3 separate regions of the Homo sapiens genome follow, and regions 1 and 3 are each linked to region 2. Evidence: promoter capture Hi-C in human tissues and cell types (Jung and others, 2019). All regions are on one chromosome and are shown on one strand. Each heading gives the region's core, a stretch centred on a gene start or on the middle of the fragment in contact. The rest is flanking DNA. Distances are from core to core; before and after follow the strand shown.

Region 1 (4,785 bases), core at 261-2,760, 340 kb after region 2:
TTTCATTTTATATTTGCATGGGAGTTGTGCTGCTAACTCACTGAAAAAGTATATTGTGATATAAGTAATAAGATAAATCTCATAGTGAAGACACAAAGATTTAGGGGAACAGAGGGTGGGATAAATTTATTTAACATCATTGGGAGGAAAGGTTTTACCTAGGTGATTTTAAAGCTGGGCTTTGAAGACAATGTTGAATTGGGGTGGAGCCGTGTTTGAAGAGGGGAAGGGAGAAAGACCTCTAGGCAAAAGAAACTGTTAATACGGTGGGGTTCATGGACTCTGTTTACCAGAAAGACTACTGGCTCCTTACCAACTGCTTTTCAAAGGTGGTGAGATTTTGAGGTTGTAGGCCTACTGACACTGTTGTAGAGCTATGGAAGTCATCATCCACTCCAAGATCAAAGGCCCAGCAGGCCCATAGACTTGTTTAGGAACCCTCTGCAATGCCTGTCTTTTAAACAAATTTAAACATGTCTTTTGCATTTGCATTTGAAATTTTACATATAAGTGTGGACAAATTATTGTGTTTTAAAAATAATGAAATATACTCCATAAAACTTTATATCTTCATTTAAAATTTAATTTTGCAACTGATATGGAATACATAATGTTAATCTGAGCATGATTTCCTAGTTTCTTAAACTTCTTCATAGACTTAAAGAAAGGCCATCTTTTGTTTAAAAATTTAAAATCATTGTTTTCCCAATATAAAAGCAACTCATATATATTCAGTGCAGAAAAATTGGAAACAAATGTGGAAAAAAATTGAAATTAAACTTGTTTATAATTCTATCAACTAGACATGAGTGCTGTTAACATACTTTCTAGAACTTTTTCTTTGTACACACATGGAGTTTCTGTTAATTAACAAAAAATGACTGTTTCTTTTTATTGAGGTAAAATTCATATAACATAAAATTAACCATTTGGAAGTGAACAATTCAGGGGCACTTAATACATTCACAGTGTTGTGCAACCATTAACTCTATCTAGTTCCAAGACATTTTTATCACTACACAAGGAGACCCTGTACCCCTATTCATTTCTTCCCCTGGGCCCTGGCAATGCCAATGTGCTTTCTAAGATCTCTATGGATTTACCTATTCTGGAAATTTTCATATAAATGTGTAGCCAGTGGGGCCTTTGTGTCTGGCTTCCTTTATTGAGCATAATGTTTTCAAGGTCATCCACATTATGGCATATGTCAGTACTTCATTCCTCATGGCTGAATAATATTCTATTGTATGTAGATAGCACAATTTATCCATTCATATGTTGGTGGTCAGCTTTCTCTTTTTACAATCTTCTTTTTGAAAAATGCAATAAAAACCTTAATCTATCCTGAACATTTTTCATAATCTTTCTTCATATGTAAAAGGGTTAATGGTCACAGGAATATGCCTATACAAATATGCTTGCAGTATATAGAACTAGATTAAAAGGAGAGTCAATTGATAACGTCAGATTTTTTTGGTTAACACCTGATGCATGTGGGCACACCCACATGCAGGGAAATACAAACCACCACCACCACCACACAACAACAAAAAACAAACACTGGACCCAGACCCTCTGGCACATGCTTGTTTCTGCTGCCCCCAGATACAATTTTTTTCCTGCAGGCAGGGATGCCATCTCTTCACCATGAGGAAGTGCTGATTCCTCTCCCCTCTCACTTCCCTTTAGGAGTGTGACCATCCTGGCCCACCCCTAAGAGTACTGTGCAATACTTGGTGATTTCAACACCACAATGCCTGATTGTTGACTGATTTTTCTCTCAGCAACCAGAACAACATAAGTTCATTTTTCTCTCTAAGTCTAGCACCGAATGAACTTGTTTCTCTCTCTCTTTAAAATTGTATTTTGCTTAAGTACCATGCCAGCAAAATTAATTCATTTCTTCAGATGCACAAAATGGTCTGTTGACTACCCAGCAGGCCATGCCTGATTTAGTAACTAACTTCAACTTTTGTTCAGTCCTTATCCTTTATCTCAACACTACTGGCTTTCTATCCCACAACTACCATCTGCCCTCCCGACAGGATGTAGTATTTTGTTTTCTGAGGCCTTGGAAAGGTATGTAAGTTCTAAAATATTTGTGACATTTTCACAAAATTTACATAATGTACCCTGATACAGTTAATAACTACTTGGCTTAGTTAACATTTCTTGAGTTCCTACTGTGTTCCAGGTACTTTGCCAGGCTTTAGCAATTAAACACACACACACACACACACACACACACACGCACGCACGCACACACACACAGCTAAGAGTATGAGTTAGAATTAGCAACATCTCTAACAGAGACACAAAACACAGTGGCTTAAATAATATAGAAGTTTATTTCTCTCTAATGTAAAAATCCAGATGGAGAAGACCAAGGCTGGTGAGAAGGCTCCACAGTTGCCTGGAATTCAGTGACAAGTGACAAGCTTCCAGTTGTTGTTTTTTTTTCTCTTTCTTTTCTTTTCTTCTTTCTTTTCTTTTCTTTTTTTTTTTTTTTTTTTTTTTTTTTTACAGCATCTCATTCTATTGCCCAGGCTGGATGTAGTGCAGTGGTGCAATATGGGCTCACTGCAACCTCCACCTCTGGGGTTCCAACAAAACTCCCACCTTGGTCTCCAGAGTAGCTGGGACTACAGGCATGCACCACCATGCCCAGCTAATTTTTGTATTTTTGTAGAGACAGGGTTTCGCCTTGTTGCCCAGGCTGGTCTGGAACTCCTGAGCTCAAATGATCCACCCACCTCAGCTTCCCAAAGTGCTGGGATTACAGGTGTGATCAACCGAACCCGGCAGCTTCCAGTTTTCTACTCCACCATCCCTAGGGTTGAACCCTCATCCTCATGCTCCAAAATGGAGCTTCAGTGATCTCATCTATGTTCTAGGGAAACAGGATGGAGGAAGGAAGGAAGAAGGCATAAAAGGTATGATAGCTACCTTTTAAGGAAAATTTCCAGAAACTACTGTACTTCTGCTTTGATCAACATCTAATTGATCACAACTTAGCCATATAACCAAGTGGCAACAAGGTAGGCTGGGAAATGTATTCTTTATTCCAGGCATCTATTTCCCAGCTAAAAACTGAGGGTCCTGATGAGGAGAAAACAGATAATAGGTAAGGCAATCAGAAATTGTCAACATCAAGACACAGTCCCTGCCCTCTAGGCAGAAAAGGTAAGAGAATACTGTGAGTATATAACAAAGGAATCTAATTCACACTGTGCAAAGTTTTCCAGAAATGGGGGTGCCTGAACTGAATTTTTAGGGAAGAGTAGGAGTGAAAGAGTGAAATAGGCAAAGAGTATGGATTTTTTTTTTTTTTTGACAGAGTTTTCACTCTTGTTGCCCAGGCTGGAGTGCAGTGGTGCGATCTCAGCTCACTGCAACCTCCACCTCCCAAGTTCAAGCAAAGTCTCCTAAGTAGCTGGGACTACAGGCGCATGCCACCACACCTGACTATTTTTTTTTTTTTGTATTTTTAGTAGAGACGGGGTTTCATCATGTTGGCCAGGGTGGTCTCGAACTCCTGACCCCAGGTGATCTGCCCACCTTGGCCTCCCAAAGTGCTGGGATTACAGGCATGAGCCACCACGCCCGACCAAATGGTGGTAATGATAATAGTGAGGGAGTTTCTGGAAAGGGAAATTAGCCAGTGGCCAGAGGCTTGAAAGGAATTACTGTATACTAGTGTGGTTGTACCCTACATTTAGAGGTCAGGAATGTTGAAAGATGAAGTTGAAAAGATAAGCAAGGGTGAATAGTTTTTGTGTCTGGTCTACTCTGTATAATCATTCATACGATAAAATGTTTAAAAAATTAGTTACCACTTAAGCTCTTGCTTAAATGAGTTTATAAAAGTGCTAATCAGTGATCATTAAGGAAATAAATTGTATACATAGAGCATATTACTTTTCACAGTACAATCATAAATAGGTACCTGCAAAAATATGAACCAATATTCTCTGTACTCCTTCTAAATGGTCAGTGTTCTGAGCCTAGCAACAAAATAATCTAACTAGATGAAAACTTATTGTATTCACCTGCTTATAAGATGCATAAAGATTCACCTTTACACCAGAGAAAGGTATGTAAAAACTGCCCCATGTCCAATGCACTTACATTAGAGATAAAAAGCCAAATGCATAATGAATGAGAAATAGCTAAGAGTCTGAGTTACAGTCACCAAAAAGACAATAATTTAATGCTACCTCTAGCAGAGAAAGAGAGCAGATACGTAAGTTTTTGTTTTTCATCCTATAAGTGGCATTCTTACCTAAAGCAAAAGCAAATATAACAAATCAGAGGCCACAGAGATGGTCAAAGCTAGAGTTTGAGGCTGTGATACAGATTTTTTTGTAAAGATGCCGATAACTTCTTCTATACCCATTTTCAATGTGACTTTTCTGTTCTTCCCATTGAAAGGTGGATTTGTTTTCCTAGTTCTTGAATCTGTGCTGGCTCTGTGACTTGTTTTGACCAAGGAATATGATAGAAGTGACTCTGCCCTTCAAGGCTAAGCATGAGACTGCCATGTACAAACGTTGGTCTAGTCTATGGAGGGCAAGATGCCACATAAAGGGGAACTGAGGCACCCCAGACAACAACTAGTATCAACTGCTAGACATGAGGCCATCTTGGACCTTCTACCACAGTTCACTGCAGTTGTATGAGTGAAACCAGCAGAACTTCCCAACCAATTCACAGAACATACGAAATAATAATAATTGTTGTTTTAAGCCACTGTGTTTCAGAGGGGTTTGTTAAAGTGATAACTGA
Region 2 (4,894 bases), core at 79-2,578:
AAATATTCATTGTTGCTTGTCCAAGACCAAAACTCTCATAATGGCCTAATTAGGTAATGTAACACAGGATGTACTCTTTTCTCACTTTTTCTTCTAAGAAACAGAGCCTTACTCTGTCACTCAGGCTAGAGTGAAGTGGCGTGATCATAGCTCACTGCAGCCTCCAACTCCTGGGCTCAAGTGATCCTCCATTCTCAGTTTCCTGAGTAGCTAGGGCTACAAATGCATGCCATCATGCCTGGCTAATGTTTTTATTTTTAATTATTTTATTTTATTATTATTATTTTTTTGAGATGGAGTCTCGTGCCCAGGCTGGAGTGCAGTGGCGCGATCTCGGCTCACTGCAAGCTCCGCCTCCTGGGTTCACGCCATTCTCCTGCCTCATCCTCCCTAGTAGCTGGGACGACAGGCGCCCACAACCACGCCCGGCTAATTTTTTTTATTTTAGTAGAGACGGGGTTTCACCGTGTTAGCCAGGATGGTCTCGATCTCCTGACCTCGTGATCCACCCGCCTCGGCCTCCCAAAGTGCTGGGATTACAGGCGTGAGCGACCGCGCCCGGCCAAAAAAATGGTCATTTAAAGCTTAAAAAAGCTGTTTGTTAACATGTATATTATTTTTAAATGAATTAGTAACTTAAAAATTTATTACCGTATTAGTAAGAATACAGTAAATATCAATACCCGTACCTGTAATCCCAGCACTTTGGGAGGCCGAGGCGGGCGGATTGCCTGAGCTCCTGAGTTTGCGACCAGCCTGGGCAACACGGTGAAACCCCGTGTCTACTAAAATACAAAAAATTAGCCGGGTGTGGTGGCGGGCGCCTGTCGTCCCAGCTACTCGGGAGGCTGAGGAATTAGAATTGCTTGAACCCGGACAGTGGAGGTTGCTGTGAGCCGAGATCGCGCCACTGCACTCCAGCCTGGGCGACTGAGCGAGACTCCGTCTCAACAATTTTTAAGAGGGTAAAGGGGTTTGGGATGAAATAACTGGAGAACAGCTGCTCAGTAAGAAACAAAGGGCTTCAATCCTGACTCGCGATAGGTTTAATCCAGCCAGAGGCCCTTCCCCAGAGAGCGCCAGTCACCGCCCACCCCATCCACACCCGCAACCGAACGCAGGACCCCCCCGCCCCCTGGTAAGAATCCTGGCAAATAACAGATATTGACGAAATGGCCGGGCTTATATACCATGCATACCCAGGCGAGAACAGGTTCACTGGGCGAGCGAAAACTAGGTCACGTAAGGAAAGGAGTGTCTTCGGCGAATCTTTGCGACACTGTCGTGTTTCAGTGGTTCCGTGCCGTAAAGAGAGGCCGGGAGCTGCCCCTAACCGAGGCAGCAGCGGACGTGAGCGATAATGGCGGATATGGAGGATCTCTTCGGGAGCGACGCCGACAGCGAAGCTGAGCGTAAAGGTGGGTTCGCTGGTCTTCGGAGGATGGGTGCGTGGCAGGCCTTCCGCTGTGGGAGCCGGACAACCGTGGAGGCTCCAGCGCCGCGGGCAAGAGGTGGCGTTTCCTCCACTCCTGCCTCAGCGCCCCCTGCACTCCCGGAGGTGCCATCCTCCTCCGGCGGGCAGGATGGAGAGTCAGACAGTCTGCGCCTCGAGGCTCTGGGTGTCGGTGGAGCAGACGGTTCCTGGGAGCTTGTGGAGCGAAAGGGGCGCGGGGCATGGGTGGAAGTGCAGGCGAGCCTGCGCAGCGCGGGTAGGAACGTTGGAGTCCTGTTCCGCCTTGCCTTGCACAGGCCAGCGTAGAGTAAGGGCTGTTTTTGAATGAATGGAAATGAATGCAGGAATATGGGATGGGGTGGGCGAATTTACAGAGGGCCTCAGAATGCCGTCTTGAATGAAACCAGAGCATGGTGTGATAGGGAGCTTGAGATGTCTGGATGACGAGTCTGGGACGGATAATGGGATGGGGTTACAGATAGATGTTTCACATAGGAGAGAATGTGTTCTCTAAGAGCTTGTGCAGAAACTCCAGAATTTCCGGAGTCTGTGATGTTAGATTGGGGAGTGCATGGGGTCTGTGTACAGAGAGGAGGAATGAAGGATTTGTTGATGAAATGAATGAATTAGTGTATGTGCATGCTGCTTGGAAGTTATTTCTGGCACAGGATTGTGGGTGTTTTTTTAAAGTTTACTTTTTTAGAGACAGGGTCTCACTGTGTTGCTCAGGTTGGCCTTGAACTTCTGGGCTCAAGCCATCCTTCTGCCTCAGCCTCCAAGTAGTTGAGACTACGGGCACTTGAAATATGAATAGGAGCTATTTGAAGTGAGAACCCAAGACCAAGTTCAGAATTCTTGCAACCCTCTAGGCTCCAAGTAAAGTGAGTCTCTTGTAGACAACATATATCTAGTTGTTATTTTCATCACCCCCAAATAAAACACTGTTCATAAAGCACTTACTCCTCATATGCTCCTTCCTCCAACCCCTGTCTGCTATTGTTTCTGTACTTATCTGTTCTGGGAATTTCATATAAATTGAATCATGCATTGTGGTCTTTTGTGTCTGGTTTCTTTTACTTAGCATAATGTCTTCAAGGCATTGTAGCACATATCAGTACTTTATTCATTTTTAATGATTTAATAATATTCCATTGAATGTGCACACCCTAAATTTGTTAATCCATTTATCTGTTGATGGACATTGGGTTGTTTGAATAGTGCTACTGTAAACATTCCTGGTTCCGGCAGGCGGATTTGCCTGAGCTCAGGAGTTGAAGACCAGCCTGGGCAACATGGTGAAACCCTGTCTCTACTAAAAATACAAACTGTTAGCCAGGTGTGGTCGTGCGTGCCTGTAGTCCCAGGTACTCAGAAGGCTGAGGCATGAGAATCACTTGAACCCAGGAGACAGAGGTTGGCAGTGAGCTGAGATTGCATCACTTCACTTCAACCTGGGTGATAAAGTGAGACTCTGTCTCCAAAAAAATAAATAAATTCATGTACATGTTTGGGTGCCTGTTTTTAATTTTGGGAGGAGGGTATTATGTAGGAGTGCAGAGTCATATGGTAATTCTTTAATATTTTGAGGAGCAGCCAAACTGTTTTCCATAGTGGTTGAGCCATTTTACATTACCACCAGCAATGCACCAGGGTTCCCTTTCCCCACATCTTTGCCAACAGTTATTTTAAGTTTTTATTTGTTTCTAAAGTAGCCATCCTTGATGTTATCAAGTGGTGTCTCATTGTGGTTTCAGTTTACACTTTCCCAAAGGCTAATGATGCTGAACATCTTTTTTTTTTTTTTTTTTTTTTTTAACGGAGTCTCAGTCTGTCTCCCAGGCTGCAGTGCAGTGGTACAATCTTGGCTCACTGCAACCTCCGCCTCCGGGTTCAAGCAATTCTCCTGCCTTAACCTCCCGAGTAGCTGTGATTACAGGCACCTGCCACCATACCCTACTAATTTTTGTATTTTAAGTAGAGATGAGGTTTTGTCATGTTGGCCAGGCTGGTTCCAAACTCCTGACCTCAGGTGATCCACCTGCCTCGGCCTCTCAAAGTGCTAGGTTCAAGCGATTCTCCTGCCTTTGCCTCCTGGGTTCAAGTGATTCTCCTCCCTTATCCTCCCGAATAGCTGGGATTACAGGCGCCTGCCACCACACCCTGCTAATTTTTGTATTTTTAGTAGACATGAGGTTTTGCCATTTTGGCCAGGCTGGTCTCAAACTCCTGACCTCAGGTGATCTGCCTGCCTCGGCCTCTCACAGTGCTGGGATTACAGGTGTGAGCCACTGCGCCCAGCCGTTGAACATCTTTTCATGTATTTATTGGCCATTTGTGTAACTTTGTTTGGAGAAATGTCTATTCAAGTCCTCTGTTTTAAAAAAATTGGTTTTAGGCCAGGCACAGTGGCTCACGCCTGTAATCCCAGCACTTTAGGGGGCTGAGGTGGGTGGATCACCTGAGGTCAGGAGTTCGAGACCAGCCTGGCCAACATGGTGAAACCCTATCTCTACTAAAAATACAAAAAAATTAGCCAGGTGTGGTGGCGTGCGCCCATAAACTTGGGAGGCTGAGGTAGGAGAATCGCTTGAGGGAGGCAGAGGTTGCAGTGAGCCAAGATTGCACCACTGTACTCCAGCCTGAAGGATAGAGCGAGACTCTGTCTCCAAGAAAACAAACGAACAAAAAACACAAAGAAATTGGTTTTATTGTTGAGTTATAAATGTTCTTTGTATATTTTGGATAAAGACACTTATCAGATACATGGTTTGCAAATATTTTCTTCCATTCTGTAGGTTGTTTTTTCACTTTCCTTTTTTTTTTTGAGACGGAGTCTTGCTCTGTCGCCCAGGCTGGAGTGCAGTGGCGCAATCTCGGCTTACAGCAACCTCCGCCTTCTGGGTTCAAGTGATTATTCTGCTTCAGCCTCCCAAGTAGCTGGGACTACAGGCATGCACCACCACGCCTGGCTAATTTTTGTATTTTTAGTAGAGATGGGGTTTCACCATATTGGCCAGGCTGTTCTCAAACTCCTGACCTCGTGATCCACCCACCTCAGCCTCCCAAAGTGCTGGGATTACAGGCGTGAGCCACTGCGCCTGGCCTTCACTTACTTTTTTTTTTTGGAGACAGAGTCTCCCCTTTCATGCAGTGGCACGATCTCGGCTCACTGCAACCTCCGCTTCCTAGGTTTAAGGGATTCTTATGCCTCATTATTCCCAGTAGCTGGGATTACAGGCGTGTGCCCCCATGCCCAGCTAATTTTTGTATTTTTAGTAGACAGGGTTTCACCATGTTGGTCAGGCTGGTCTGGAACTCCTGACCTCAGGTGATCTTCCCACCTTGGGCTCCTAGAGTGCTGAGATTACAGGCATGAGCCACCGCACCCAGCCAAAAGATTTTATTGTCCTCTAAGACATTAACCAGTTTTGAACTTAACTT
Region 3 (4,434 bases), core at 1,012-3,511, 470 kb before region 2:
TATTTTCTCATTTCTCCCTCCCTAGGTTTTTTCTTTAATCCCAATACCTCAAATCTCAGGCTCTTCTTTTTCCTTCTCCTACCAGTTTCTACATCATTATTTACTTTTTCTTTACCTACTACTTCATGAGTCTCTCTTCTTTAAGCCTCTGATTCATGCCCCATCTCAACCCTGCTTGGTGGCCTCAAACTCTGGTATGGCTTCATGGAAAATCCTGAGCTAAGCCTGTGGAATGTTGCCAATTTTTCTCACCTCTTTTCCTTGCCTTACCTTATCTCAGTCTTAAATAAAATCAACATATATGTGCTGCCCACAAACTATGGGCCAGGAACTTGGCTGACCTCAAAGGGGATTCAAAGATGGCTTTGAAAGAGTATATAGTCTGGTATGGAAGGTAGGTAGATTCATAAATAACTAAAATAAGGTTTCAGGTAGCATAAGTGAGATGTTTGAGAGACTCTCACAAGATAATGAGGGACTAGATCTAGAGTAGTGTGAGTGGAGAAGAGGAAACGGGGATCACTGAAAGAGAGCCTAACCCTTTGTTAGCTAATCATGACAGAATCCAGCTACATGACAGTGTTACCGGGTCGTCCTTGCTCCCAGAGCTCCCAAGATGGTGGCAGGCCACTTCCAAAATGGCGGCGGGCCACTTCCAAGATGGTGGCAAGCCTCATGTTCTCTGACCTGGGGTTCTTGGCCTCACGGATTCCAAGGAATGGAATCTTGGGCCATGCGGTGAGTGTTATAGCTCTATTAGAAGCCGTGGGTCACGGAAGAGAACTGTGGAACCCAGTGACTGACTAGTGTTCAGCTCGATTAGGACGAACCCGGGCACTTAGCCATGCAGGAACGATGGCAAGCCTGTAGCCCTATCGGGAGCAGCAGTGGGCGCCTAGCTGGATCAGGAGTACAGCAGACACCCTGCTGGATCCACCCTGTGGAAGTCAGCCACAGGTCTGTAACAGTGGCAAACAGCAGTGGTGGACGGCGAGCGAAAGCTCAGCTCGAGCCGTAACAAACACAGACCAAAAGAAAGTGCAGTTGCAAGATTTAATAGAGTGAAGACAGAGCTCCCATACAAAGGGAGGGGACCCAAAGAGGGTAGCCGTTGCCGGCTGGAATGCCTGGGTTTATATCCCGATCATTGTCCCTCCCGCTGTGCTCTTAGGCGATAGATGATTAGCTATTTCTTTACCTCCTGTTTTTGCCTAATTAGCATTTTAGTGAGCTCTCTGATGGCTCGGGTGTGAGCTAAGTTGCAAGCCCCATCTTTAAAGGTGGACGTGGTCACCTTCCCAGCTAGGCTTAGGGATTCTTAGTCTGCCTAGGAAATCCAGCTAGTCCTGTCTCTCAACAGGGGCTTTCCCTTGCCTTGCTGGGGCTGTGTCCAGTTTGATTCACTTTGGCCAGGGTTATTGTTTTCTAACTGCTTCTTTTTCACCAGGAGGGCCTTCTGCAGACTAAGTAGGCAGTGTCTATCCTTGTTTCTGATTCCTGCCCGACTCACACTGTGTCCCATTTCTAGGTTCCTCATGCGTTCCAGTGGCCTTGTCTTCTTGCCTGCCTTCCCCCAGTCTTCTCACCGGATGTGACTGGACAAGTTTAGTTCTATTCCTGCCATGTGTATTTGCTTTGCGGCCTGGGGGAGGCAGGGTTGGAAGTGATGAAAGCAGTAGGAAGTGGCATATCAGGTTGAGATTTCCCTGTTTCAGCATCTAAGGTATATATCCTCAAACTGACCCCCTTCTGGCATAGTTGTTTCTGCAGAGTCACTGATCTCATTGGTTAAGATGGAAAAGAACCACAGAAAGGCAATGGTAATAATAGAATGGTTTCTGACCTATTTCTCCTTGGATGCTTTCCTCAGAGGTAAAGCTAAGATAAAGAGGAAATTGGTTATCAGGGTGGTGTTCAGTGTTTAAATATCTTGCTTTTGGTGAATATGAGGGCCTTATCCTCCCACTGCTTATCTGTAAGTGTTGTTAACATCTAGCCCTTGGAAATCTGGTCTTTGGCAAAGTATCTACTTTTTGCAAAATACTTGTGGAAATCTGAGCTGGAGCTCCCTACTAACACAGAACATGAAGGCACTTTCTAGATTTAAAGTCTCCTCATGTTTAGGCACTGGTCAGTCATGCTTCTACAAACTCACTTGGACACATTTTCCTTTTTTGTGTTTTCATCAGTCAAGGTGATAGGTCATTTCATGATTCTGAATATCTCTCTCTCTTTTTTTTTTTTTTTTTTTTTTGAGATGGAGTCTTGCTCTGTTGCCCAGGCTGGAGTGCAGTGACTTGATCTTAGCTCACTGCAACCTCCACCTCCTGGGCTCAAGTAATCCTCCCACCTCAGCCTCCTGAGTAGCTGGGGTTACAGGCACGAACCACCATGCCTGGCTAATTTTTGTATTTTTAGTAGAGGCGGGGTTTCACCATGTTGGTCAGGCTGGTCTCTAACTCCTGAGCTCAAGTGATCCGCCTGCCTAAGCCTCCCAAAGAGCTGGGATTACAGGCATGAGCCACTGTGCCCAGCCCGACTCTTAATCTCTTTATATTTATATATCTTTTCTGGAACCAGTAGTGCCTTCCAGAGAAAGCTACAAAAGTGCTGTCTTTGTAAAGTAAGCTTCAGAGTGGGAGCAGTTAGTACATAGAAATATTTATTACATGAGTAAGGCTTTAGTGATATGTACAGATATTACTCAGTTTATGGACTGTGTCCCTGGGAAAAAAGTTGTAAAACAAATTTCAGTAACATGTTTGATATATGACATTAGAAATCACTTCCTATGGGAAAAACAGTAACAACCCCACCTTGTACTTATATATTGGTTTATACTTTTCATGAAGTTTCTATGTGCGTAAGCCTTTGCAATAAACTAGAAGACTATTGTTGTCATCCTCATTTTATTGTTGCCTGAAATAAAGGCCAAGGCCCATCTGGTGGCCCTGGGAGTAGAACCCATAGTCTAATTCCATACTCTTTCCTCTGCAAACTGTTTAGATTAAAAGTTTGTATGTGTTGGTAATAATAAGAGAAAATTAAAGCAATTGAGCGAGCTTTTAATCATGCTACTTATATTCAATTTAAAGAGATGCCTTTTATTCTGATCTTCTTTCGATAAGTTCTTACTAAGCACCAGCTCTGTGTCAGGTACTGTTCTAAGTACTGCCTGCTGTGTTGAACAACACAGACACAGAACTTATGTTCTAATGAAGGAAGAGAGATAGTAAATAAGTAAACAAACAAGAACATAACAGCAGGTGATTTCAGATAGTGAATAAGAGTGCTGAAGAATGTAAAATAGAGAATGGTAATAGTAGTTTGGATTGATTTCCGCTAGAAAGGTCTGGGAAGGCCTCTCTGAAGAGGTTTACATTTGAGCTATCATATAAGTGAGAAGGAGGCAGACATAAGCAGATCTGGGAGAAGTACATTATAGAGGGCTTAACAAGAGCCAGGGTCTAGAGACAGGAGCAAACAAAACTGTGTTCCTGAAGAACTAAAATAAGATCTGCATAGTGCCGGCTTAGAGGTTGGCAGGGGAAGGAAAGGACAGGTCATGAAGGCCCTTGTAGAACATGGTAAGGGATTTGTATGTTAACTATGATGGCCAGGCCAGGTGTGGTGGCTCACGCCGTAATCCCAGCACTTTGGGAGGCCAAGGTGGGAGGATCACTCTCTGAGGCTAGGAGTTTGAGACCAGCCTGGCCAACATGGCGAAACCCTGTCTCTACTAAAAATACAACAACAACAAAAAAGTAGCCAGGTGTGGTGGCAGGCACCTGTAATCCCAGCTACTTGGGAGGCTGAGGCAGGAGAATCGCTTGAACCCCAGAAGCGGAGGCTGCAATGAGCCGAGATCATGCCATTGCACTCCAACCTGGGCAACAAGAGGAAAACTCTGTGTCAGAAAAACAGAAAACAAAAAAACTGTGATGGCTATTTGTCCTACTGTTTTCTTGTTAAAATGTCCTTTATTTTGTAAAACGATGGTGATATTAGACAGTAAATTGGTATTTATGTTGCCTCTGCTGAGTGTGAGGGCTTTAGCCTCTACTTGTCTGTAAGTGCTGCCAATAATTAATGGTTTTATAATCTTACTTGTCAAGACTAAAAGTTAGTTAATAACCTTATATCAGTCCCCAAACTTTAAGTAAAAAATTTTACCAGCCATGAAATCTAGTAGTTTGGAAACTATGGCAATATACCACAGCAGCTTCCCAATAGGAAGGCTTGAAAATATTTGTCAGTAAAGAGGTTAACATAGGCTGGGCATGGTGGCTCATGCCTGTAATCCCAGCACCTTGAGAGGCCAAGGCGGGTGGATCATGAGGTCAGGAGATCGAGACCATCCTGGCTAACACGGTGAAACCCTGTCTCTACTAAAAATAGAAAAAAATTAGCTGGGTGTGGTGGCATGTGCCTATA

What was found. The method cuts DNA at HindIII sites, captures the fragments that hold promoters and counts their contacts. A contact is called where the count stands out against the background at its distance.
Region 1: a contact is called between a fragment that was not itself captured here and the fragment with the promoter of LEO1 in region 2, in 1 of the 25 tissues and cell types used here (aorta).
Region 3: a fragment that was not itself captured here is called in contact with the fragment with the promoter of LEO1 in region 2 in 1 of the 25 tissues and cell types used here (dorsolateral prefrontal cortex).

Annotation. Positions count from the first base shown.
Region 1 is chr15:51,626,735-51,631,519 of GRCh38, reverse strand. All of the region lies in intron 3 of LOC105370816 (a long non-coding RNA gene), which reads left to right. Among named protein-coding and RNA genes, the nearest start is that of DMXL2, 6.4 kb to the right of the region's middle. The HindIII fragment of the contact is 4,382 bases long and covers 1-3,701 here.
Region 2 is chr15:51,968,212-51,973,105 of GRCh38, reverse strand. LEO1 (LEO1 component of Paf1/RNA polymerase II complex) reads left to right here and starts at 1,328. Exons shown (of 12, transcript NM_138792.4): 1 at 1,328-1,418. The coding sequence starts at 1,361. It also overlaps a transcript of MAPK6 not described here. RefSeq lists enhancers at 1,059-1,634, 1,282-1,811, 1,635-2,211. The HindIII fragment of the contact is 14,890 bases long and covers 1-4,894 here.
Region 3 is chr15:52,435,415-52,439,848 of GRCh38, reverse strand. All of the region lies in intron 1 of MYO5A (myosin VA), which reads left to right. Among named protein-coding and RNA genes, the nearest start is that of MYO5A, 91 kb to the left of the region's middle. The HindIII fragment of the contact is 8,386 bases long and covers 1-4,434 here.